Regions from separate parts of the Homo sapiens genome. Here region 2 is linked to region 1. Evidence: promoter capture Hi-C in 16 types of primary human blood cells and fetal thymus (Javierre and others, 2016). All regions are on one chromosome and are shown on one strand. The core of a region is centred on a gene start or on the middle of the fragment in contact, and the rest is flanking DNA. Distances in the headings are between cores, read along the strand shown.

What was found. The method cuts DNA at HindIII sites, captures the fragments that hold promoters and counts their contacts. A CHiCAGO score of 5 or more calls a contact.
Region 2: a contact is called between a fragment that was not itself captured here and the fragment with the promoter of ARMC3 in region 1, in 1 of 17 cell types (megakaryocytes). The highest score is 5.0, in megakaryocytes.

Annotation. Positions count from the first base shown.
Region 1 is chr10:22,923,335-22,929,404 of GRCh38, forward strand. ARMC3 (armadillo repeat containing 3) reads left to right here and starts at 4,719. Exons shown (of 19, transcript NM_173081.5): 1 at 4,719-4,772. The HindIII fragment of the contact is 5,434 bases long and covers 1,759-6,070 here.
Region 2 is chr10:22,726,618-22,732,934 of GRCh38, forward strand. No RefSeq gene overlaps it. Among named protein-coding and RNA genes, the nearest start is that of PIP4K2A, 15 kb to the left of the region's middle. The HindIII fragment of the contact is 1,100 bases long and covers 3,415-4,514 here.

The DNA of each region.
Region 1 (6,070 bases), core at 3,469-5,968:
ATAAGAATCAAAACTGGAAGACTTCTAAAACAAAACATAAAAGGAAGTCTATTTTCTTCCCTTTGGACTAGGCAAAGATTTCTTAGGCAGGGCAAAAGCAAAATGAAATAAAACAAAACAAGGCTAACCTTTGAAACAATGAATGAATTGGACTTCATCAAAACTGAAAGCTTCCGGTGTACAAAATATATTTTTAAGAAACAAAATGATAAGCCACACACTGTCAGAAAATATGTCCAAAATGTATATCTGACAAATGACCTGTATCCAGGATATACAGGGAACTCTTACAACTCAAGAACACAAACAACCCAATTAAAAGTAGGAGAAATATTTGAACAGGCATTTCACAAAAGAAGGTACAGAAATGGCTAATGATCACATAGAATGGGATTATCATCACTATACAGGGAACTCTTACAACTCAAGAACACAAACAACCCAATTAAAAGTAGGAAAAATATTTTAACAGGCATTTCACAAAAGAAGGTACAGAAATGGCTAGTGATCACATAGAATGGGATCATCATCACTAGTCATGAAGGAAATGCAAATTAAACCCAGAGGGAGATACCATTATACTCCCACTAAAATGGCTAAAATTAAAAGGACTGACAACATCAAGTGCTGTAGAACACATGAAGCAATGGCATCTCTCATTTTTGCTGGTGGGAATGCAAATACAGTATAGTTCCTTTGGAAAGCAATTTGGCAGGTTGTTATAACATTATACATACACATGACATAAGACCCAGAAATTCCACTCCTGGGTATTTTCCCAAGAAGAGAGAAACACGTTCACACAACACCCTGTATATTTAACCATATTTATTTATAACAGTCCCAAACTGGAAAGTACCAGAATGTCCATCAATCAGTAAATGGATGTTGTACATCTATGCAGTGCAATACCACTCAGCCATAAAGTGAGATAAGCTATGGATAAATGCAACACCATGGACAAATCTCCTAAACTATGCTAAATTAAAGAAGCCAGACACAAAATACAGCATATTGCATGGTTCTGTTTATAAGACATTCTAGAAAAGCCAAAATGATAGGGAGAGAAAGCAGAGCAGTTGTTCCCAGGGAAGTGAGTTAGAGGGAGAGATTTGACTTCAAAGGGGCATGAGGGAAATTTGGGATGATGGAGATGGTCTCTGAAACTTCCCTGGGGTGATGGTTACACAACTGCAAACCCTTGTCCAAACCCATCCAACTGTATATGTTAAAATAAACATGATCTCCCGCCCAAATTTGACATACTCAGCAAAGACTAAGTCTATAAAACAAGAATTAAAGCAGTAGTTTTAATTATTTCATAAAAACACATCACAAGGGAACATCACACACTGGGGCCTGTCATGGGGTGGGGGGAGGGGAGAGGGATAGCATTAGGAGATATACGTAATGTAAATGACGAGTTAATGGGTGCAGCACACCAACATGGCACATGTATACAAATGTAACAAACCTGCACATTGTGCAGAACTTAAAGTATAATAAAATAAAATAAAATAAATCACAACTTGTTATAACACTATAATTTCAGGATGGGCTGGTATGATATATTGGTGCAGAACATGGATATAAAAGTCAAGCTGACCTTAGTTCAAGTCCTGTCTTTACCATTTACTAGTAGAGTGACCTTCTGCTAATCACCCTGTACTTCATTCAGACCTCACAGGATTACGGTGTGGATTTAATTGTGCACTTTAACCACTTCATAATTGCCAGTCTCATAGTGAGTATTAAAAAAGCTTTAGTTACTTGAAGAACATTTAGAAACAGCCTAGGTGGGGAGACATACATGTCAACAAATACATTACAGTATCATGTGAAAATAACAAATAGAGCAAGTGTAAGGTACAGCTATAGCAACGAATGAGAAATGCTTCCCTCTGTCTGAAGAAGCTAATAAAGACTTTTTGGAGGAAATGATGACTAAGTTAAAATTTGAAAGATGAATAAGTGGTTTTCAGGCTGATTAGGGGAGTGAAGGGCTCAAAATGTCATGGTGTACTTGGAGAATGCTGAGCAGTTTGCTATATTTTTGAACAATGACAGAAGCTATTGTAGTAGGAAGCAGTCAGTCAGAACAAGAAAGATCTTGAGTGTCAATTTAAGAATCTTGTTGCATTTCATCATTTGTGTGTTAGAGCTATTGGAGCCAGCAAGGACACAGACAAATTAAATTTGCATCTTAGAATGATTACTTTGATTGTCTTGGAGAAGATGAATTGAAGCTAGGATGAGTCTAGAGGATGGAAGACCTGCCAGAAGGCTTGTTAGATGAATTCAGGTAAAGGACAGTGACTTTCTGTACTTGGGCTATGGGAATTGGAAGGTGAGAATAAATTCAAGAAACTTTTAGGGGAATCCAATAATTAACTGCATGAAAAGGAGAATAAGTCTAGGATGCCTGTCAGACTTGGTGGTCTGTTTGGGTAGAACACCTGTTGGTACCCCTAGATAAATGGAAAAACATGTCTATACTGGGAAAATGATGAGTTTAGGTGGGTAGTGTTGATGACTGAAGTGCCTGTGGGTATCCAGGTGGAACTGTGTAGCAAGTAGGATATATGGGTCTAGAGTTCAGTACCGGAGTCTGATGAGGAGCTACATATGTGCAATAGTTGAAGTCACAAATATAAATAAGATCACCTAGAAAAGCATATAGTGTGAAAAGAGAACAAGGGACAGATCCCTGGGAAATTTCAACATTTAAGATTCTGTAAAAAAACCACAATAGGGCATATATCCCTATAAAATCCCAGCTACTCAGGAGGCTGAGTCAGGAGGATTCCTTGAGGCCAGGAATTCAAGACAAGCCTGGGCAACATAGATAGACCCTGTTGTATAGAAAAGATCTTAAATGATGGTCATAAAAGAAAGTAGGAGGAAGATCAAGAGCAAGTAGTACCAAGGAAACCAAGAAAAGAGTTTCAAGAATGAGGTGTCATTGAGTATTATATACAGCAGCAATGTCAAGCAAGATGAGGGCTAAGAAGCATCCAATGGATATGGATAGTTTTAGTGCTGGGATGAAAACAGGTCACTATAGTCTGAAGAGTGAATAGGAAGTTAAAAATATGTAAGTATCTAATGCTGGCTACTTTTTTTGAAAAGTCATGACCAAGAAGAGAAAGAAAACAATAGGATAATAGTTAGAAGGAACAACAACATCAAAGGGATTTTATTTGTTTTTGCTTTTTAGATGAGGCATGGGAGGGGCTTCAACATAATTATATACCAACAGGAAAAAACGTGGAAGACAGGGAGAGGCTGAAAATACAGGTGTATATTATTCAAGGTCCAATCATATAACACTTGATGACGCTTATATTCTTGAAACTCCCTCCTTAGTTTCCTTGATGCTACTTGGTCTTAATCCTTTTCCTACTTTCATGACCATTACTTAAGATCTTTTCTATACAGAAGTCACACCGGATATTTGACCATGGAAAACTGAATACAAATAATTGTTATAAAGCTGTTTATCAGGCAATTTAAATGGTGAGAAGAGAACATAAGATATATAAAAGTAGCAATTATAAGAAGCATCTATCATTCTTAGGACTGGGAGACCAACAGGGGCCGGTAGGAGACGGAATTTGCAAAGTCTAAGAGGAGAGGGAGAGACTTTTTGCTAAAGGCAATCAAAAAATATTTTATGAAGATGGCATTTGAGCTGGGCTTAATTAAGTGGAAATGAGAGAATATTTCAGGTATTGCACATGACCTGGGAAATAGAAGCTACTTTATAAATATTTGTTGAAAAATGAAGTGATGAACAGATAAGCAAGAAAATCTAGAGAAAAGTGTGGAAAATTTCGGGAACAGTAAGTTTGGCTGGAGCTTGGATGGTGGAGATCGGTTGAAAATGTGGTTGCACAGATGGAGTAGAGATGGAGCAGACGGTCTTAAATTCCAGGCCAATGTGTTGAAAATTTATCTTAGGAAGCCGCTGACATTTGAGTAGGGAAGTGACAAGACTGGAACGATGATTTCTGGATGGCCGATTTGCCTGTGATACGTAGAAAGAACTGTAAGCAGAGAGCAACTGAATTTCTCAGCCAGAAGGCCAAAAAATGACGAGCTGGATTGAAGTGACAATAAGGATATGAGAAAGGGAACAAGCAGGAAACAAAATGTAAGCCGCCAAGAAGTGGCTGAAGTGATGACTGTGGTTGGGGGGCATGGGAGGAAGAAGGGAAATTGAAGCTCCTTCTGAGTCTAGGCAATTGGAAGAATGGCAGGAAGAGGAAAGAAAGAGGAAGAGAACGGGGCTTTGAAGGGCCATGAGAAGTTCTGTGGAAACGGATTGGACATCCTAGTGCAAAGAGATGTGGCAGTGCAGGTCTGCAGCTTAACGGAGCCTGGGCAGGAGGTGGCTGATGTGGGTTTCATCTGCATAGAGATTCCGGCTGACGCCTCTATTTGGAAGAATGCAATAGTATTTGCGTATTTGAACCCACAGCCAGTCCTTGGGCCAGAAACTGAGGCTGAACTGCCTCTTGATTTACAGCTTCCACCCCCAGTTTCCATTCTCCCCTAAAGCACTGGATTCAGGTAATCGCGGACGCACTTGGCTCCTCCCGCACTGGCCGCTGCCCTCGGCGGGACAATGGGCGCCCTAGCAGCCCCGAGCGTTCCCAGGGCGCAGGCGCGGCGCGGCGTGGCGTCGCCTAGCAACGAGGCACAACAAGGGACTGGGGGTTCGTCTGCTGGGTTTGCGGAGCAGCTAGCTACTCGGCGGGATCTCCCGGCAGGTAAAGGTAACCCCGTGGGGTGGGGAGGCCCAAGGCAGAGGCCTGAGGAAAACCTGGGAAAGGAGAAGGTGCCACGTGGGCGCAGACTGCTTGGGTCAGTGAGGCAACACCTTGCTGGGCGTTGTTAGTTTCTGCCTCGCGCCCGCAGGGTTAGACGGGGCTTGGGGTGGGTTTCGTAAGCATCCCGCCACCTCCCATTCAACAGGTGACAAAACTGAGGCCCGAGAGGGGATCTGAGGTGAGATCAAGTCAGATTCCGTTACTTGACTGTGAGCAACTCAGAAGTGGCCTCGATTTCTTGAGCCCTCCTCCTCTTTAAATCTTCTCAAAGCAGAACTCATTAGAAAATATTTAAAATCATAGGCTGAACGTTCACGAAGAACAAATACAAAGGACCAATCAACTCGTGAAAAAAAAAATGGCTCCAGTAGTCAAGAAGATGCATTTTTAGAGCAGAGTTGTTTGCATATCCAATGCCCTGAAGTTTTCACCCAGTTAATTTACTGCTAGAGATTTATCCTAAAGAAATAGTTGGGGATAATGGATGAAAATTTTATGTCCAAGGACGTTCTTTCAGCCCTGTCCATATTTCCAGAAAATTAGAAACAAATTTCAACAATCAGAGACTGGCTAGATAGCTAAGGGATTTTAAAATATTTGTAATGGCATGTTATGCTAATCCACTGGAGATTATTAAAGCAATGAAGGGAAACTGAGACTTCATGAATTTATTTGTTAATATAAGAATTTAGTAGGAATATGAACCCAGGAAGGGAAGGTGAAAGTAGGGGATAGAAGTTGAGGCAGGATGTTAAAATCACTTTAGAAAAACACACAAAGCCAGGTACGGTGGCTCACGCCTACAACCCCAGCACTTTGGGAGGCTGAGGCGGGTGGATCGCCTGAAGTCAGGAGTTCGAGACCAACCTGGTCAATGTGGGGAAACCTGTCTCTACTGAAAATACAAAAATTAGCCGAGCGTGGTGGCGGGTACCTGTAATCCCAGCTACTCAGGAGGCTGAGGCAGGAGAATCTCTTAAACCTGGGAGGTGGAGGTTGCAATGAGCCAAGATCAGGCCACTCTCCAGCCTGGGCAACAGAGTGAGACTCTGTCTCAAAAAAGAAAAAGAAAAAGAAAAAAAGAGAAGAGAGAGAGAGAGGGAGAGAGAGAGAGAGAAAGAGAGAGAGAAAGAGAAAGAAAAAGAAAAAGAAAGGAAAGGAAAGGAAAGGAAAGGAAAAGAAAAGAAATAGTATTGATCTCTCTGAGCTTATCTTTGGGTGATTTTTATTTTATTCGT
Region 2 (6,317 bases), core at 2,715-5,214, 200 kb before region 1:
AAGGAAGGTGTTTAGATAGCATGACCAGCAAAAGTCTTGAGGAGGAGACATTTGGGTAATGGCCTGAAGTTGGAAGGGAGCAGGCCATCCAGGTACCTGTGGGAAGAATATTCCAGGCAAAGTACCTGCAAGTGCAGAGGTTCTGATGCAGAAAGCTTAAAAGGAGTCACTAAGAAAGAAAAACCATGGGTTGACTGTGTCTGGTGGCTCATACCTGTAATCCTAACATTTTGGGAGGGTGACGTGGGAAGACTGCTTGAGGCCAGGAGTTCAAGACCAGCCTGGGCAACATATCAAGACCCTGTCTCTAGAAAAAAATAAAATAATTAGCTGGGTATGGTGGCACACACCTGTAGCCTCAGCTACTCAAAAGGATCACCTGAGCCCAGGTAGTTGAGGCTGCAGGGAGCCGTGATGACCCCGTGCAGTGAGCCGTGATGGCACCACTGTAATCCAGCCTGGGTGACAGATCAAGAACCTTTCTCAAACAAAGCAAAACAAAAACCATGGGTTTATGTTGCAAAATATTACTTCATTACATTTTTATCTATAAAGGACATCATGTTTAAGCTTCATGATTTCATTGTCTAGGACATGTCAGCAAACTATTTCCTGAGGGCTAAATCCTGCCTGGTTTTGTAAGTAAAGTTTTACAGAAACACAGCCACGTTCATTCATTTACGTATTGTCTATAGCTGCTTTCACACCTCAGCAGCAGAGCTGGGTAGCTGAGATAGACCACATGATCTGCAAAGCCTAAAATAACTACTCTTTGGCTCTTTCTGCAAGAAAGAAAAATTGCCAGCTTCTAGTATACAGGTAATATTAGTTATTTAATCCCCTAATGTTCAACAAATCACATTAATATTCTTTTGGTTGCAAGGTTTAGAAATTTGTTTTAAACTAGTTTTTGTAAAATTGGGGAAATTGCTGGCTTATTGAAATGGAAGAGTCAGACATTCCTGGATCTAGAGACTGGACAATTGCTTTAAAGATCAACGTTCCCAGCTCTTGATCAGCCTCAGTGTGTGCATTGCTTTCATGTCACACACAAGTTTTCTTCACATCCCAGGGAAGACGGTCACTGAGAGTCCCTGGCTCCACCACTCTGCAAAGAAAGTTTCTCTGCAATGGTATCCGTCTGTCAGTTCTGCAGCAGTTCTGAGATTGGCCCTATTGGGATCAGGTGCCCACTCCTGGCCAGGGCCATTTCCCTGTGTTCAGGGAAATGAGATGCTGTGATTGGCCAGGGTTGGGTTCTGTGCTCACCACTGCACCCAGATGGAGGAAGGAGCTATTGGGATGAACAGTCCCACCATCTCATAATAAGATGGAAAGAGGTGGTTCTCCAAAGCAGGAAATGTTGAGCAGATTATAAAACAGCACGTGTAGTGTTTGCAGTTTTTCTCTATTAAAAATGAAGTTTCAGTGAACTGCTTTATATGTCTTTTTATGCAGATGCATTAGTAATTGTTATAGATAGGTACTGAAAGGCAGAACTGAGAGGCTATGGAAAATTGCTTTCCAAAAATGATTTACCAATTTACTTTCCAACCATGTATGAAAATGGTCATTTACTCACACCCTCACTAACCCTGGATATTATCAGCCTTTGAAAATGTTGCCAATCTAATAAGCAAAATAGAACCTTTGATTTTATTAGGACTGGGGCAAAGTACTTTTTTTTTTTCTTTTTGAAACGGAGTCTGGCTCTATTGCCCAGGCTGGAGTGCAGTGGCACGATCTCGGCTCACCACAACCTCCGCCTCCCGGGTTCAAGCGATTCTCCTGCCTCAGCCTCCCGAGTAGATGGGACAAGAGGACTGTGCCACCACACCCGGCTAATTTTTGTATTTTTAGTAGAGATGGGATTTCACTATGTTGGCCAGGCTGGTCTCGAACTCCTGACCTCGTGATCTGCCCACCTCAGCCTCCCAAAGTGCTGGGATTATGGGCGTGAGCCACCACCCCTGGCCGGCAAGGTATCTTTTTATGTCCACTGACTGTTGCAGGTCAGGTCCCGGCAAGCAGGCGGAGAGATGGAAATTAGGGTACAGGAAGTTATGAGGAAGTGCTCTCTTGATTAACACCCAAATTGGGAGGGAAGGAAGCAGGACTGGGCAGAGGAAGAAGTTGGGCTTCTATTTGGTCACAACTAAGGCCTCAGCTGTCCTCCTGGTGATCTTTGAAGCTAGAATGGTGCTTTCCAGTTGTCCAACTTAGAGCATGGTGATGATGCCAGCATAGCCCTGAGTCCCCAGTTATTGAATGAGGGCAGCCCTAGGACGCATGCCCTTGGGCAAGGTGAGTCCCTTCCACTGACGGCAACTCCCAGAGAGGATGGACACCCTCAGCAGCTGGGAGAATAAATCCTTCAGTACTGGAGCACAGCACAGCATGCGTTACATTGACTATATTTATTAATTTGTGAATTGCCTGTTTATAGTCTTTCTGTTTCCTTATTGATATGTAGTGGGGCTTTGTTCTGGATATTAATCCTTTGTATGTTATATATGTTGCAAAATATACTGCGTTGTATCTCAGTTTACTGCTGGCCTTTTTTGTTAAGGGGTCATTTATTTTAAAGATCTGTTACAATACGGTCAAAACTGTCCATCTCCCTTTTCCAAGATTATAAAAATATTGTTTTATTTGAATATTTCTATGCTTTTATCTTTTTTATGTGTAGCTCTTTAATTGCTCTGGAGTTAATTTTTGTTCCTGATATGAGGTAATATCACAGCACCATATATTTAATAGACTAGTCTCTAGAGACTGATGTAAAAGATCATACTTAAGATAATTTAAATTTTAATTTAGATGGAATATTTCTTGACTCTCCAATTCCAGCGATCTGATTTTGAGATGGAGTCTTGCTCTGTCGCTCAGGCTGGAGTGCAGTGTTGATCTCGGCTCACTGCAACCTCTGCCTCCTGGGTTCATGCGATTCTCCTGCCTCAGCCTCCAGAGTAGCTGGGATCACAGGCGTGTGCCACCACACCCAGCTAATTTTTTTTTGTATTTTTAGTAGAGATAGGGTTTCACTATGTTTGCCACACTGGTCTCAAACTCCTGACCTCAGGTGATCTGCCCACTTCGGCATCCCAGAGTGCTGGGATTACAGGCCTGAGCCACTGCGCCCAGCCTATTCTTTTTTTAATACCTCATGCAAAAATCAATGTATTTTTATATTTTGCTCTCTGGTTGGTCAAATTTCCCAAACAATTTTTTCAAATTTTTAAAATATACTTAGAAGCATGTTTCCGTTCTTATGAACATGAGAATGAACTTGTCTTATTGGGATTGCATTAGATTTACAGACTCAATTGAGATATTTCTACACTAAAACTTCTTATCTATGAACATCATACATTTGTCTATTTTTTTGAAGTTTTCTTTTATGACCTTCAGTAAAGCTTTATAGTTCTCTTCACATAGGTAATACACATTTATTGTTAAGTTTCAAGTATTTTGCTTCTCCCTCCCACTTTTGTCAATAGAATATGTCTTTTCTTTCAGTGAGGGAATATATTATGAATCTGCTGGGTTTCATTGCTAGCATTTTATTGTACCTATGTTCACCAGTGAGACTGGTTTATAGTGATATTCTTATCAATAACTCTTGCACAGTTTCGGTAACAGATAAGTTGGAAAACATTATATGTTTTTTCTCTTTGTGGAATTATTTAAATAACACATTAGTCATCTGTTCATTAAAGGTATAGCGTTTATTTCAGGGGTTTGGGGATGGTTATTTATTGGTTCAGTTTTCCATCTTCTTGAGTCAATTTTGATAAAATATTTTTCTAGAAAAGTAACCACTTTTTCATATTTTATTGATATAAATTTCTACATTGTATTCCCCTGTAAATTAATATCTTTTATACCTATTAATTGTGTTCTGTACTTGGGAATTTCTATTTAAATAGATCCCAGCTGTGAACAAAGATTGTTCTGTTCCTTCCTTCCTAATCATATGTCTTTTGTTTCCTTTTATTATTATTATTTTAATTGCACCAGCCACAACTTCCAGTATGATGTTGAATGGGAGTAATAAGAGGCGAACTCTTTGCTGTAAGTATAATGTTAGCTGTAGGTTTTTTGGTAAATGCTTTCTATGGGATTGAGGATGTTCCCCTCTATTCCTTGATTGTTGAGAGTTTTTGACATGAAAGGGTGTTGGACTTTGTCAAATGCTTTTGCTATATCAGTTGATACAATTGTACGGTTTTTTTCTTTAGCCTGGTGATGTGGTGGATTAGGTTAGCTGATTTTTGAATGCTGAACCATCCTCATATATCTGAAATAACTCACTTAGTCAGGGTGTATGATTCTTTTTATGCTTTGTTGAATTCAATTTTCTAACATATTTTTTGAGAATTTTGCAACCATATTAATGAGAGATGTTAGGCTATAAATTTTCTTTCTTGTGTTGTTTATGTGATTTTGATATTAGGATAGAGCTAGTCTCATAGAATGAGTTAAGAAGTATTCTCTCTTCTATTATCTGGGAAAGCTTGTAGAGAATTAGTATCATTTCTTCCTTAAATGCTGGGTGGAACTCACCAGTGAAACCATCTGAGTCTGTTGCTTTTTTTAATGCCAGGTTGTTAATTATTGATTAAATTCCTTTAATAGATATAGGCCTATTCAGATCATGTGAAGGTATTTATCTAATAAGTTTCCTTGTTCTGCAATCTGTTTTGTCTGAAATTAATATAGCTGCTCCAACATTTCTTTGCTTAATGTTAGCATGGAATATCCTTCTCCTTTGCTTTACTTTTAACCTATCCATGTCTTTCTGCCTTATCTGTGTTTCTCGAAGGCAGCATATAGTTGGGTATTTTTTTAAATTAACTCTGCAAATCTCTGTCTTTTTATTTATTTATTTTATTTTTTATTACTTATTTGTTAGTGTACAAAAACACAATTGATTTTTGTATGCTGATTTTTTTATCCTACAACTTTGCTGAATTTGCCTATTCCAACAAAATTTTGTGGAATCTTTAGCAGTTTCTATATATAAGATCATGTCATCTGCAAACAGAGATAATTATACTTCTTCCTTTCCAGTAGGGATGCTTTTTATACCTTTTTCTTGCCTAATTGCTCTGACTAGGATTTCCAATACTACGTTGAATAGAAGTACCCAGGTCTTGTTCCTGATCTTAGAAGAAAAGCTTTCAGCTTTTTATCATTGAATATGTTGTTAGCTATGGGCTTGATACATATTGCCTTTATGGTGTTGAGGTTCCTTCTTTCTACACCTAATTTGTTGAAAGATTTTTCTTTTTTATCATGAAATTATGTTGAATTTTGTCAAATGCTTTTTCTGCATCTATTGAGATGACAATATGATTTTTATTCTTCATTCTATTAATACGGTATATCACATTTCTTGATTTATGTATTTTGAACCATCCTTTCATCTCAGGGATAAATCCCACTTGATCATGGTGTATGCTCCTCTTAATGTGTTGTTGAATTTGGTTTGCTGGTATTTTGTTGAAGATTTTTGCATCTATGTTCATTTAGGAATATTGTTCTGTTTTTTTGTTTTTTGTTTTTGTCATGTATTTTTCTGGCTGTAATGTCAGGGTAATGCTGACCTCATGGAATGTGTTTGGAAGAATTACCTCCTCTTGAATTTTTTGGAAGAGTTTGAGAAGGATTGGCATTAATCCTGTAAATGCTTGGTAGAATTCACCAGTGAAGCTAATGGGTCCTGGGCTTTTACTGTTGGAAGGTTTTCAATCACTGATTCAATCTCCTTACTCATTACTGGTCTGTTCAGATTTTTTTTTTTTTTTTGAAATGGAGTGTCATTCTGTCACCCAGGCTAGATGCAGTGGCATGATCTCGGCTCACTGCAAGCTCCGCCTCCCGGGTTCACACCATTCTCCTGCCTCAGTCTCCCGAGTAGCTGGGACTACAGGTGCCCGCCACCACGTCAGGCTAATTTTTTGTATTTTTAGTAGAGACGGGGTTTCATCGTGTTAGCTAGGATGGTCTCAATCTCCTGACCTTGTGATCTGCCCGCCTCGGCCTCCGAAAGTGCTGGCATTACATGCATGAGCCACCGCACCCGGCCTGTTCAGATTTTCTATTTCTTCATGATTGGTAAGTTGTATGTGTCTAGGAATTTATCCACTTTTTGTAGGTGATCCAATTTATTGCTGTATAACAGTTTATGGTTCTTCTTTATGATACTTTGTATTTTTGTGATATTAGATGGAATGTCTCCTCTTTCATTTATAATTTTTTTATTTGAGTCTTCTCTCTTTTTCTTTTTTAGTTAGTCTAGCTAAAGATTTATC